Regions from separate parts of the Homo sapiens genome. Here region 2 is linked to region 1. Evidence: promoter capture Hi-C in 16 types of primary human blood cells and fetal thymus (Javierre and others, 2016). All regions are on one chromosome and are shown on one strand. Each heading gives the region's core, a stretch centred on a gene start or on the middle of the fragment in contact. The rest is flanking DNA. Distances are from core to core; before and after follow the strand shown. Region 1 holds the start of ARRDC3 (arrestin domain containing 3). Region 2 holds the start of IPO11 (importin 11).

Region 1 (7,036 bases), core at 2,436-4,935:
TAATATGCGTTATGTTTGTAATAGCTCTCAAAGCTAAAAAACAAATACTACTCATTTTGCTAATAATACAGCAAGTCTTCTGTCCAGTCTGCATGCCAAATTTGCTGCACTGTGACGATATTAAAGAGTTAAGTCAGAGTTACAAAATCTTGAAATACAGAATTAAGACCAAAGGAAAAAAATCCCCCTTAGTCCCATAGCACTCGAGCCTATCAGCTGCTAGTTAAAATAGATTAAGCATAGATTTCATATTTTTCTTTATGAAACAGATTCTGACTACTGGTAGGTTTTTTTTTTTTTCAACCAAACACCAAAACTTCCAGTTGAGATGGCTTCCTTTTTTTTTAAAAATAAAAATATTGAGCATGTTGATATAATATGCAAAAAACTCCAAACTTGGCAGTAATCTTAACATATCTCCTCAATATCATACAACTTGACAGCAATGATCATTTATCAGTCTTTGATAGAGTTCTTGAGATTGAGTTCAAACTTTAATATATTAAGGTGAAAGAGCCATTTGACTCAAAAGCTAATATAAAAAGAGATTCCTACTTAAGCTCTGAAGAAGCAATGAAAGGGGAAGGGAAGCTAGTTATTCAGTCTAGTTGGAATTTTACTCAGTAGTGCCAACTGCATCTAGTGGAGGGATTAGAAAAAAGCAAAGGAGATAACATAGTAGTGGGATGTTATTCTGGGCACCAAAAGCACATGTAACTGCATACTGGCAACAGTGAGACAAGCTAACAAAGGGGACAGAAGATGTACTTGACAGGATTATAGAGAGTTAGCAGATGAGTAGGAGGAGATGGCATATGAGACGTAGGCTGGGGAGAAGTAGGAAAGAGCCTTGATGGTAAAGACGAATAGTTTAAATATAATACAAAATACAATAATGGCCCAGTGAAGCAAGCTGAGAAGCCCAAGATAATGTCTACAGTACAGCATTTCAAGCTGTCTAAGGAGTAGCTATTTAGACAAAAAATCTGAAAGGGGGAAGTTATGAAAGCGACAAGAGAAAACATTCAAAATTTGGTCCAAGCGTTTTTGTTTTTGTTTTTGTTTTTAAGAATTGAAAAGATAAAGCGAGACCAGGCGCAAGCGGCTCATGTCTATAGTCCCAGCACTTTGGGAGGCCAAGGCGGGTGGATCTCTTGAGGCTAGGAGTTCAAGACCAGCCTGGCCAACATGGTGAAACCCTGTCTCTACTAAAAATACAAAAAGTAGCCAGAGGTGGTGGTGCGTGCCTGTAATCCCAGCTGCTCCGGAGGCTAAGGCAGGAGAATCGCCTGAACCCGGGAGGCAGAGGCCGCAGAGAGCCTAGATTGTGCCACTGCACTCCAGCCTGGGCAACAGAGTGAGACTCCATCTCAAAAAATAAAAATATAATGAAAATGGCAGCTGGTAAGAATTTCTTGGAAATTTGCCAGTTACCTAAGTATTTAAGAAGACACAGTAAAAAGAAAATTTTAAAAATAGCAAAATAAATAATAAAGACAACTATTCAAAAGATCCTGAAAGCTTCAAACACAAAGAATAATGTACTACACAGTGACAGGAATGAAACATTTAATATTTTAAAACAATTTTCCAAACTACAAATAAATTTCTTAGACTTCTTTTTTATTAAATGCAATTCTGGTGTATTTATATAGCTAATTCTTATTTTTTCTGAAATGAGTTATATTCTAATTAAATAAATTTTACTAAAAAAATCCGAATTCAGCTGTTCACTAACCCTTAATAATTTTTAACATAAATGTAGACACAAATGTGCAATGAATTTATGTATTCATTATGGACTACACTTTTAAATCCATTCCTTGCTCAGTGGTTTTCGAATGCTTATTAAATATCATTGACCTTATGCTGAGGAAAAGCTGTCATTCTAGGAAATTCACCACTTCTACCACTAGGTGGAGAAAAAACACAAGTAGTATCTGTAATCAAAGCTAGTACAAGGCCCCAGGTACTTTACCTAGAATTTCCACCAGGTGTCAACCAAGAGGTAGGGAAAAGATAAGACTGTTTTTCCCACTTAAATATGCAAATTTATAATTTTATGCATAGCGATCTAAACTCTGAAATAAATGGCCTGCTCATTAATTGTCTAGTTTGCATATTTATACTCTTTATATATTGCTGTTGAGTCCAAGATATTGCCTTGTCAACTAAAATCCAACCCCCAAAAGCTTAGTTTCTTTTGAAATAAAACAGCAAGACCAATAAGTTTAGTTTATTGTGACTCATAGGCTCAACCTATCCATATACACTACGCAAAAGAATCTAAAACGTTTAGACACGGACAGCCAAAAATCTTCCAAGGTATTTTTGGTCATACATATATATATAGAGAGAGCACCAGATTCATATTTTTTCTTTCTACATTTCTCTTGTAAGGCAGTTCTGTTGATTGCCAGTAATCTAGATGAGTTTATGCTGTTATGCTCTGAATCCCAGTGTGATGTGACGAAAGCACTGCTATTTTTTACCAAACATTCACAATAAAAAGAGAAATGTACCTATATTTAAGATGTATCATGAGAATTACTACGTTAAATGGTCCAAGGCTCTCGGCCGAAAATTAAAGCTTCACACAGTTAAATCCCTATTTATATACCAAATCATGCTTTTTAAAAACAATTTTATGCGCTTCACTAATTTCTAACAAAGATTTTCCGATTCTGTTGCAAACAATATGTCAGCTAAACCACTATGTCATATGCCTTTTATAAGGTAGTACTTTTTTAGGCCGAACTCTATTCTTATTCCTCTGGACACAGGAGTTGTAATCATGTCTTACTCTGCAAATCTAGCCGTAGGTGGTGTCTTAAAAGGACTTTTTCTTCCTTCGAGGAAGTGATCAAGCTTCCCCCAGCCCCCACCCGTGTCATCCTGGAAACAACTTGGTTGTTTTTCGGTGCTAATTAAGCAATGTAGGAGAAAGAAGTTGAGGAGACAGCAAAGCCTATTGATTACATTGTACTTGCTTCTCTACCTCGCTCTTCAAAGGATTAAGGTTCCTTTGACCTCGACTGAGTTCATTTCCAACCTGCCTACAAAGTACTGGTTTAAAAAAAAAAAATCCAAGCAAAGTATGCTCTTGTCTATGAACAATATTTCTTGTCCGGTTTTATTACGTTTTCTTTGGAAATTCGTTAGATTATGCTCAACAATCGGCCGCTTGCCCAACCGGTTTCTCCCTTCCCCCATCTCTCTTCACACATCACTTTTTCCTCCTCCCATCCAGGCAGTTGGTAAAACGCTGCAGTGCCGGTAACGCACGCTTCGGGCTGGTCGCTGCAGTTTATCCTAACTTGGCTTTGCAAACTCCCCACCCAGCCCTTGTACCCTCGCACCCCACTCTGCCATTATCTTTCTAGTAGAGTGCGCTCGGTAACGGGCTCCAGATAGCACGTCGAGGGTATACGGTAGCCTGCCTACCAATAGGAGCCCACAATGAAGAGAAGTCAGGTTCAGCCGGCCAGCAGCTCCAGTATCTCCTTCCCCTAGCTCTACACCTACTGTACCCGGGAGCGAGCGGGCAAGGGAGCGAGCGCGGCGCGGCGCGGCGCGGGAGGGGGCGCGCAGGGAGGGCGGACAGCAGCCGCGGCCTGCGCCTGCGCACTGGGGTTGTTTTTCACAAAGCTGCTCTTAAAGTGAGCTGGCAGCTTTTAGCCGCCCGTCTTTGTAAGGAGACCACTGAGACGAGCGGGAGCGCGGAGCAGCAGCCTCTGCTGCCCTGACTTTTTAAGAAATCTCAATGAACTATTTGTAGAGAATCACTGATCCGGCCTGCAAGCATTTTGCACGGCAAAAATATCGATCAGTGTTAAGTGAAGATCACATTTTATATGCGATCTTGACTTTTTTGTCTTACATTATATTTTTATAGATTTTGTTATAAACATGGTGCTGGGAAAGGTGAAGAGTTTGACAATAAGCTTTGACTGTCTTAATGACAGCAATGTCCCTGTGTATTCTAGTGGGGATACCGTCTCAGGAAGGGTAAATTTAGAAGTTACTGGGGAAATCAGAGTAAAATCTCTTAAAATTCATGCAAGAGGACATGCGAAAGTACGCTGGACTGAATCTAGAAACGCCGGCTCCAATACTGCCTATACACAGAATTACACTGAAGAAGTAGAGTATTTCAACCATAAAGACATCTTAATTGGGCACGAAAGAGGTAAGTTTTTGTTATTCATAAGTCATTGGACTCATTTTCTTTGGAAACGTACCTTTTCAGTTTTCTGAATTAACGTGATTCTACTCCTAGCATAACTAAGCAGTTTGAGAAAGGTTAGCAAAGTTGGAAGGTTTGGATTCTCCTTGACGTTCATCGTGTGTTAAGCCGTAATGCATGCAGGCATCTGCAAAGTGACTGCAAACTACACTTATTCAGCTACCTCTGTACCCGGCTCGGTCTGTGCCACACGCACTTGTAGTCCATTTGCACCTTACTTATAAATTCTGTTTGAATCCAATTCAGTCGTTTTACTAATATATTTTCAAATGAATTGGTAAAAGCTGCAGTCTTAGATTTTTGCCCTTTTACTTGCAACCTAAGATGTAAAAACTGAACTTCGATCAAGAAATGTAATAACATTTTTAAGAGACTTAATGGGTGTGTTTCATTTTTAATATTGGAATGCAAAAGACTTTAAATAATTGATGACTGTTCTTTCATAAAAGATTTCTGTGGCTTATTTTGACATATGGTATCAACACCCCACGTGTTTTTTCTCTATTCTTTACCATTCCTTTAAAAATTTACACCCAGCATTCCTTATTTTAAAGGAATGACTATCTGTCATTATGATAGGTATCGAGTCAGGTTTAGAAGCCATTTAGGATCAGTAATTTTCTTTTCCGAGCATCATGTCTAACTTTGGAACGTGCATTCAATGAAACCCATGCCAGTCAAATGGAATTGAAAAGTATAGGGCACACTGGATTTGATTTTTGGTTAGAAGAGAGAGATAAAGGGTTGTCAAAAGGAGAAGGAGTCCTGAGATTTCCAATCTATTGTTTAAATGGTTACATTGTGGAAATATAGGAGACTCTAGGCTTGTTTTTCTAAGTTTCCACCCTTTGTTAGAAGCGGTTCAATCCTGTTTCGGACCAGTTCTGGGGGGTGGTGAGGAGGGGCGCTTGTTCTGCTCTCAGCAGATTGGTTACACGCGTCAGGTGGTGGCGATGACTTAATTCCTAGCCCAAGAAGAATATAATGTTAAAACTGGTTATGTAATTTTTGTGCCTCTCCTTTTTAATGCAGTATTTAGTTCAGATGTTGGCGATTTTTCAGAAAAAAAATTAGAGACATATTTTACCTTATTTTTTATATTAAAAACGTACATCCTGGAGAAGTGCTGATGACTAAGGCAAGTGAGAAATGAAGGATGCTTTGAGGGACAGTATTAATGCATTATTTTTGAAACTATTAAGGTGAACTCAGTTCTTTAGCAGGATTTTCGTAGTTAGATACAGGTACTTTGCATCCTGAAATAACTAATTAATCTCTCCAAGTGTTAACACTGATAGGAGATGCAAATGCCTAATGACAGCCTTGGTATTTGTTGAAAAGCAGATAGATGACTTTGTGTTTGTACCTTTCTGAATATTGCAGCCTTTTATGAAACGGATGAAAGAAAACAGATTTTTCCTCAAGGGGTTAAGACTTGCAGTGGGGAAAAGTAGAACAACGAGATGTGAGGACAAATATAATTTCATTAGTTGCACCATGATTTCGTGGTAAAGAAAACTAAATGCCCTGCACCCCCAACAAAATGCCCCCCAAACCCTGCAACGCGTAGACGAGCTCAGTCTGGAATAGTTTCAATGACTTGAAACTGGGAGCTCTCAAACTAGCCTGGTAACTGAGACCCCGCCCCGGGCGCCCGGGATAGGCGGAGCCAGGTTTGTTAGCCTGTTGCTAAGGCGATGGCAGGCGCTGATTGGATTGGGCGCGGGCGGGTGGGGAGAGTGAGCTCGCGCCGCGGCTGGGGCGAGGCTAGGAAACCGGCGTGCGCCGGTAAAGGTTCCTCCAGAGCGACCCCCACCCAGCCCGTACTCACGTTTGTTCCCGGGCTTCTGGGGGCGCCCAGCCCGTGTCAACATCATGTTCTGTCGCCCCTCTTTTGGGCCTCCTAAGGGCCATCGAAAGGAAACGACTTCAGGCTTTAACTGAGTAGAGGGCAGACGCTCCTGCCGGCCTTACAGGTGCTGGATGGCCATGGACCCAACTTTAGCAGAAAATCCTTTTCAGATGGAAGTTGGATGGGAAGGGTTGGCAGGACCCCCGTTAGCTATCTTCCGAGTGGGAGGTGTCAGGGGACTCCTGTGAACGCTTGTTTTCCCCTTAGCTGAAACAAAGCTTGTTCCCCGACCTCTCCAGTCGCCACACTGTCTACCTTGAGTTGACCTGAGGGGACAGAGCAAAGGCTGGCCCGAGGAAGAAGGAAAGTGATTCCAATATCGAAATGTTGGGGGAGGGGGGGGCTTCGACGGGTATCCTCTGCCCCCTCCCCCATCGTTTTCCGAAGCCTTCGGGCCCCCGCCTCCCCTTCGCCACCCCAATATCCCTTGCCGAAACTAAAGGTGTCAGAGTGGCCCGAGCCAGATGGAACCGGTCGCCGGCTGGGGCGTGTAAAGCGGAAGCGCCGCGGCTCGCTCGCCCCGCCCCCCGGCCAGCAGGCTAGGTTGCGCGGGCACGGGCGCGAGCGCCGCGCGACGTATGCCGTATGTATAGCGGGGCGCGCGGGCGGCAGCGGCGGCGGCGGCGGCGCGCGGGCAGGCCGGCTGGGATCTGCTCGCGCCGGTTTAGGCCGGTCCTCTCCTGCTCCGGTCTAGTTCTTGATTGACAGCCCGGCACTTGTTTACCACGGCGCGGCCGCCGCCGCTCGCTTCAATGAGACTGCTGAGCTGGCACAAAAAGGGAGCGAAGAGGGAAGAAAGGGAAAGGAAGGCGAACTTCGGGCGCCTTCGAGGGGAGCGAATTTAAATGGCCCCCAGCTCATCAGCTAGTTTTTGGTTC
Region 2 (7,576 bases), core at 1,392-3,891, about 29 Mb after region 1:
AAGAAAAGAAAAAAAAAGAAAACAGAAAGATACAGCAGAGGTGCATGTACACACAGGATGACCACGAGAAAAGGCAGCAAGAAGGTGGCCATCTGCAAGCCAAGGATGGAGGTCTTACAGGAAACCAATCTTATCTGCACCTTGATCTTAGACTTCCACTCTCCAGAACTGTGAGAAAAAAAATTCTCTTGTTTAAGCTACCCAATATAAGGTATTTTGTTGTGGCGGCCCTAGCAAACACATGAAGGAAATATTGCCCGTAAGGAGAAAAAACTCAGAATATCATTAGAGATGGACAGATAGAGGTCTTCATGTTTGCAGGTGAAACAGAACAGAAAGCAATGAAGTTCCCACTCAATGTATTTCATTTCCTCTATGAAGCAGAAGGGAACTTTATCCAGTAAAGAGTAAAGAGGGGGCCGGGCGTGGTGGCTCAAGCCTGTAATCCCAGCACTTTGGGAGGCTGAGGCAGGGGGATCACCTGAGGTCGAGAGTTCGAGACCAGCCTGACAAACATGGAGAAACCCCGTCTCTACTAAAAATACAAAATTAGCTGGGCATGGCGGTGCATGCCGGTAATCCCAGCTACTCAGGAGGCTGAGGCAGGAGAATCACTTGAACCCAGGAGGCGGAGGTTGCAGTGAATTGAGATCGCGCCACTGCACTCCAGCCTGGGCAAAAAGAGCAGAACTCCATCTCAAAAAAAAAAAAAAAAAAAAAGTAAAGACGGGGCCGGGCTCACTCCTGTAATCCCAGCACTTTGGGAGGCCAAGGTGGGTGGAGTTCAGGGAGGTCAGGAGTTCAAGACCAGTCTGGCCAAAATGGTGAAACCCTGTCTACTAAAAATACAAAAATTAGCCAGGCTTGGTGGCAGGCACCTGTAATCCTAGCTACTCTGGAGGCTGAGGCAGGAGAACCGCTTGAACCCGGGAGGCGGAAGATGCAGTGAGCAGAGATCACGCCACTGCACTCCAGCCTAGGTGACAGTGAGACCCCGCCTCAAAAAAAATAAAGAGGAAAGGTGGTGGGTTAATAGCCACCATGATAAACAGGAGCAGTTAGCAGGGACACACAGGATTGTTAGGCTGCCTGTACAGTACCCAATAGACGTTTGTTATTGAATGAACACCTAATTGTCATTCATGAATTTTAGTCCGTTTTTAATATAACAAGCTCTGACAGTAACCAGCAAAAGAAAAGCACTGGAATGAGTTGGAATCTGGGTTATAAATCTAGGTATGTGTGACCTTATGCAAGGCACTTACCTTTCTGGGCCTCAGTTTCATCAGACTGGATAATCAGCATAAGATCACCTCAGATTAAAATAAATGATGCTATAAATTTTTATACCGGTTTGTGCATTACCTCAGTGTTCTTCAACTGTTACCAACCAAAGTAGTGCATCTCAAGATTTATTGAACATTCCTTTCATCTAGATAACTTGTTAAAATTGCAGATTTTGATTCAGCAGCTCTGGATTGAGCCTGAGATCATGCATTTCTAATAAACTCCCAGGTGATGCTATATACCACAATTTGAGTAGCAAGGGTAAAGAACACTGATGCAACTTAAGCTCTACAAAGCTTATAACTGTGGACTTATCTGTAATAAGTCTGATAGTCAGCAAACCAAACACACTACAGACTCACACCAGCACTAAATGTGTTTTGCCATTCCTTAAACGCTCTGAAATTAACAGTCCCTATTTGAAGCTGATAAAGAAAGGAAAAAATATTACCATCAATAACACTAAATTAGAAGTGAGGTTACATACATACACACACACAGGTACAAATATATAACACAAAGGTCAAAATCCAAATAATCAAACATTACCTTACCCAAAATTTGAATATTTTTATTGCTGAGAAAAAAAAATTTTGTTTCTGGAAAAATCTTCAGTGTATTTTAATAGCCACATGCCTACAAGGATCATGCTGCATTCTGGTTTGATTCCAAATGCAAATATATTCAAACATCACAAAATCTAAAAATTGTTCTATTAATGATCAGATAATCTTTACATATTTGTTTAAAACCTCTAACATTACCACAGCCAAATGTGTTTGTGGTGAAAATTCTCTTTGGCCTTAGAAGTTCAACTAGGGCGGAGACCACCCTCCTACCCTGAGACTATAATATATGGCCACAAGCCACTACTATAATTAATTGTTTCTACTATACCCTGTGCTAGGTTACTGCAGAAACAGAGAAAATACCAGTCCCATCATAACCAAAAGGGAAAATGTTTCTACTTTCACCGAAATTTTCCTCAGTGATGAAAGATGTAATATGTGTCATGCAATGGATGTCTCCTATAGAAGAGTCACCCTGCCCTTAATCTGAAGCTCCTCTACTGAACAGAGAAGTTTGAAATAACATGAAAATGGAGGAAGAAAATTCCTATCCCAGGAGGGGGAAAAGCATTATGGCTACAAACTATTCTTCCTTCTGAAGAATAACCGAAATCTGAAGGGCACTACCGCGCTACAACTGAGCTCGTTTAAATTATGGAGGGGAGGAGGTATGTCAACTGCAACCTTGGCACTAGTAGGTAATTTACCAGTCCTTGCTATTTAGTCAAATCACTTTCAGATAGTACTTCTCTCATTCACCAACATGTCACAAAATAATAAAGAAAAAATGACACACGTAATAAGCAAAAGTAGTTTTGCTGAATCACAAATACCCCCAAATATAAATCTACAGGAGTCGCTGAGCTTGAGAATTGGCGGCCATACCTCTCCATGAAGCTCCTCTCTATAAACGGACAACTACCTTCACTTTTTCATTAAAAGCATGTAAGGGTCTAATGTTTAAAGCTATCACACTATTGCTATTAGCAACAAGGTCGCGTGCGCAGTAACAATGCACAACGGTCTTATACTCGAGATAACCACTTTATCTCAAAATTTGCACCACCTATCCCCCAAGGGCAAATGCATCACCCAGGTCCGCAACCGCGGTCACGATGGGTACACTCGCCTCTGCTCAGCCTAGCATACGGTCCCTCCCACCCCGCACCCTGATTGCTCCACTACCATGCTGCCCACTCCCGGGCTGCCTCGGCCAGCCCCCAGTTCCCCGGGTTCCTAAGGTTGCGCAAACAGCCAAGTCTGCAGGCCGCCCTTGCCTCGCTACCGTTATCCCTCATCTCCTGGTAGCCCCACTTTCCTCCCGCCTCTCGGGACTCGGGTGCCCAACCCACTCCCTTCCACTCCCGCGCGCTCGGTGGCTCTCGGGCCGGGGCCTCACCGTTTGGTTCGGTCGGGAATTGCCCGGCCCTCCCGCTCCCACTTCCCAACACGAAGTGGCGTCGGTTGGTCCCTCTCCCCACGCTGCCAGACCCCACGCCGCCGCCTACTGATGCCGAAAGCGGCTTCTAGGAACACGCCATGTTTGGCGTCGCAGCTCCAAACGACGCGGACGCGCGAAAACTACGTCACAGGAGACCAGCGCGCATGCGACCGGCAGAGAGAGAAGGCGATAGGCGAACGGCGGGAAGGGGAAGGAGGGGCTTTGTCTTTGAACCAAAAGGCGCGGGGTATCCAAATCAGTTGTGTGCGCTTGCGCAGTGCGCTTGCGCAGTATAAAGAGCCAGGAGTCCGGACTAGCCGGATCTGTCACCATGGAAACCATAGGTCTGGTTTCTCCGACTCCCAGGGAGCTCAATTGTTTCCTGCGTTGATTGAAGCTTCAATCAGAACCATTTCACGCTTTATATTCTAGATATCAATAGCGGATCCGTCACAGCAGAGAAGAGTTATTTAAAGAATCTTACTCCCATCAGTCCACCCTCCCTCCCGCAAATATTTATTTTTTAAGTTACCCAAATTGCTTGGCGCTTACTCCTGAGTAATAGCAAGAGTGGAAAAATGTAAAAGGACATAAATCCAGTTCTGCTTGCCTCTGCTAAAAGCTAGCATAGTCACCTAAATTTTCTTATCCTTAAAAAGAGAACTTACTCAGGCGCAGTGGCGCGCGCCTGTAGTCCCAGCTACTCCAGATATGGAGGCAGGAGGATCACTTGAGCCCAGGAATTCGAAGCCAACCTGGGACATATAGAGAGTTCACACACACACACACACACACACACACACACCCATTTCAAAAATAATAAGGGGTGGGCACAGTAGCTCACACCTGTAATCCCGGCACTTTGGGAGGCTGAGGCGGCCGGACCACGAAGTCCGAAGTTCGAGACCAGCCTGGCCAACATGATGAAACCCTGTCTCTACTAAAAATACAGTAATTAGCCTGGCGCGGTGGCGGGCGCCTGTAATCCCAGCTACTCAGGAGGCTGAGGCAGGGGAATCGCTTGAACCCTGGAGGCAGAGGTTGCAGTGAGCCAAGATTGCTCCACTGCACTCCAGCCTGGGCAACAGAGCGAGACTCCGTCTCAAAATAAATAAACAAATAAATAAATAAATAAATAAATAGACTCCGTCTCAAAATAAATAAATTAATTAAAAATACACACCAACTATATATTTCTTAAAAATAATAATAGTAAGGCCAGGCACAGTGGCTCACGCCTGTAATCCCAGCACTTTGGGAGGCCGAGGCGGGCAGATCACCTTAGGTCAGGAGTTCGAGACCAGCTTGACCAACAAGGAGAAACCCCATCTCTACTAAAAATATAAAAAATTAGCTGGGCATGATGGTGCACCCCTGTAATCCCAGCTACTCGGGAGGCTGAGGTAGGAGAATCGCTTGAACCCTGGGGGCAAAGGTTGCAGTGAGGCGAGATCGCGCCATTGCACTCCAGCCTGGGCAATAAGAGCAAAACTCCGTCTCAAAATAATAATAATAATAGTAAAAGAAGTTGTAAGGAAATAGAGTGTTCAAAAATATTAATAATAGAAAACCTTTATTGCTAATTTAGAATATTCCAGGTACAGTTTTAAGATCTTTATGGGAATTATCTATTTTAATCCTCAGAACAACCCTTATGAGGTAGGTATTTTCTTTATGTCCACTTCACAGATGAAGAAACTGAAGCACAGAGAAGTCAAGTAGCCCACCTAACGTCAAACAGCTAGTAAAAGGCCATGTTAGGATTTGAACCAAGCTCTGCATTCCAAGAATGTCGATCACACAAGGGCTGTTTTTTAAAGTAAAAAGATAAAATTACCTAAACAACCACCAATGACACAAATGATTAAATCACAATACATCCATACATAATAAAATACAAATTGACCATTTAAAATTATGTTGAGGTCGGGCACAGTGGCTCACACCTGTAATCACAGCACTTTGGGAGACCAAGACGGACAGGTCACCTGAGGTCAGGAGTTCAAGACCAGCTTGGCCAACATGGTGAAACCCTGTCTCTACTGAAACTACAAAAATTAGCCTGGCGTGGTGGCATGCGCTTGTAATCCCAGCTACTCAGGAGACTGAGACAGAAGAATCGCTTGAGGCCGGGAGGCGGAGGTTGCAGTGAGCCGAGTTCGCACCACTGCACTCCAGCCTAAGCGACAGAGCGAGACTCCATCTCAAGAAAAAATAAATAGGCCGGGCGCAGTGTCTCATGCCTGTAATTCCAGCACTTTGGGAGGCCGGGGCATGTGGATTGCTGGAGGTCAGGAGAGCGAGACCAGCCTGGCCAACATGGTGAAACCCTATCTCTACTAAAAATACAGAAATTTAGCTGGGCTTTGTGGCAGGCACCTGTAATCCCAGCTACTCGGGAGGCTGAGGCAGGAGAATTGCTGGAACCCAGGAGGCAGAGGTTGCAGTGAGCCGAGATCGTGCCACTGCACTCCAGCCTGGGCGGCAGAGGGAGACTCTGTCTCAAAAAAATATATATTAATTAATTAATTAAACAAAATAAAATTATCTTGAAGTGTATTTGTTGACATGTTTACACATGCACAATGCATTGTGAAAAAAGAGGGTTGCAAAACATTATGTTCAGAATGTCCCACTTTTGGAAATAAATAAATGCCAAAATGCTAGGAGGGTTTATCACTAGTTGGATGGGTATTGTGACCATGCTTTATTTTCTTTTTGCTTAACTGTATCTTCTGATTTTATTGAAAGATAGTACTTCTCAGGCTTGGAGAGGTGGCTCACACCTGTAATCCCAGCACTTTGGGAGGCTGAGGCAGGCGGATCACCTGAGGTCGGGAGTTCGAGGCCAGCCTGATCAACATGGAGAAACTCCGTCTCTACCCAAAATACAAAAATTAGCTGGGCGTGGTGGCACATGCCTGTAATCCTAGCTGCTCGGAAGGCTGAGGCAGGAGAATGGTTTGAACCCGGGAGGCAGAGGTTGCAGTGAGCCGAGACTGCACCATTGCACTCCAGCCTGGGGGCAACAGAGCAAAACTCTGTCTCAAAAAAAAATAAAAAACAAAGATAGTACTTCTCAAATTTTAAGTGTTCATAGAATCACATAGGGATCTTGTTAAAATACAGTTCATGATTCATTTAGTCTGAGGTGAGGCTCGAGGTTCTCCATTTCTAAACAAATTTAGATCTATGTTTCCTGGTAGGTAGAATAAAAGATGTCCATGTCCTAATCCCCAAAACCTGTGAATATGTTACTTTACAGAGCAAAAGGGATTTTGCCAATGTGATTAAATTATCCAGGATAATCTTACTATGGGAAGATTATGCTGGATTATCCTCTAGGTCCAATGTAATCAGAGGGGTCTTTATAAGAGGGACGCTGGAGTGTCCAAGACAAAGAAAATATGCCAGTATAATAGATGTCAGAGGGATGCCAGGGCCATGAGCCAAGGAATGCAGAAAGCCTATAGAAGCTGGAAAAGTCATGGAAACTGATTCTCTTCTACAGCCTCCAGAAGAAACTCAGACATGAAAACAATTTTAGACTTCTAACCTCCAGAACTCTAAATTAATAAATGTATCTTGTTTTAAGCCACTAATTAGGTTTGTGGTACTTTGCTGAAGCAGCAATAGAATATATGCTCAAAAGTTATAGGCTCTCTAATTTGCTACCCTTCATTTATTATTTTAACTTGCATAAAATTGAGTCTTGGATAACTCTACATTATAATACAGCTCATTAGATGCTTATAAATTAACATAATTCCTAGATTCATTTTTGTTTATAATAAACTTGAAACAAGTTTATTATTTCCATAAGGACTGATTATGTAAATCAGTCCTGGGAGGCAGAGGTTGCAGTGAGCAGAGATTGTGCCACTGCACTCCAGCCTGGGCAACAGAGCAAGACTCCGTCTCAAAAAATAAAAAAAGAAAATAATTTGTCAATTTATATTCAAAGACTAAAATGTTCACGCAGTTTGAGTAAATAATTCCATGCCTGGAAATCTATACTAGAGAACCAATTCAAAGTACTGAAAATATTTTCCAGGTATAAACTAAAATGTCTATGGCTCTATTTTTATAAGAACAATGGAATAGGCAGGATTTAGTAAACCCTTACGCATTCACAAGGTGAAAGTTTCTGTAGCAGTTTTCTTTCTTTCTTTTTTTTTTTTTTGAGACGGAGTCTCGCTCTGTCGCCCAGGCTGGAGTGCAGTGGCCCGATCTCAGCTCACTGCAAGCTCCGCCTTCCGGGTTCACGCCGTTCTGCTGA

What was found. Contacts are between HindIII fragments. The CHiCAGO score rates a contact against its expected background, and 5 or more counts as called.
Region 2: a contact is called between a fragment that was not itself captured here and the fragment with the promoter of ARRDC3 in region 1, in 1 of 17 cell types (fetal thymus). The highest score is 10.7, in fetal thymus.

The regions. Positions count from the first base shown.
Region 1 is chr5:91,379,966-91,387,001 of GRCh38, reverse strand. ARRDC3 (arrestin domain containing 3) reads left to right here and starts at 3,685. Exons shown (of 8, transcript NM_020801.4): 1 at 3,685-4,189. The coding sequence starts at 3,910. ARRDC3-AS1 (ARRDC3 antisense RNA 1) reads right to left here and starts at 6,655. Exons shown (of 3, transcript NR_027435.1): 1 at 6,078-6,655. RefSeq lists enhancers at 2,919-3,218, 3,098-3,615 and silencers at 3,469-3,778, 5,924-5,993, 6,614-6,793. The HindIII fragment of the contact is 1,076 bases long and covers 2,871-3,946 here.
Region 2 is chr5:62,408,609-62,416,184 of GRCh38, reverse strand. IPO11 (importin 11) reads right to left here and starts at 3,422. Exons shown (of 30, transcript NM_016338.5): 1 at 3,256-3,422. RefSeq lists a silencer at 2,932-2,981 and an enhancer at 3,312-3,501. The HindIII fragment of the contact is 2,111 bases long and covers 1,586-3,696 here.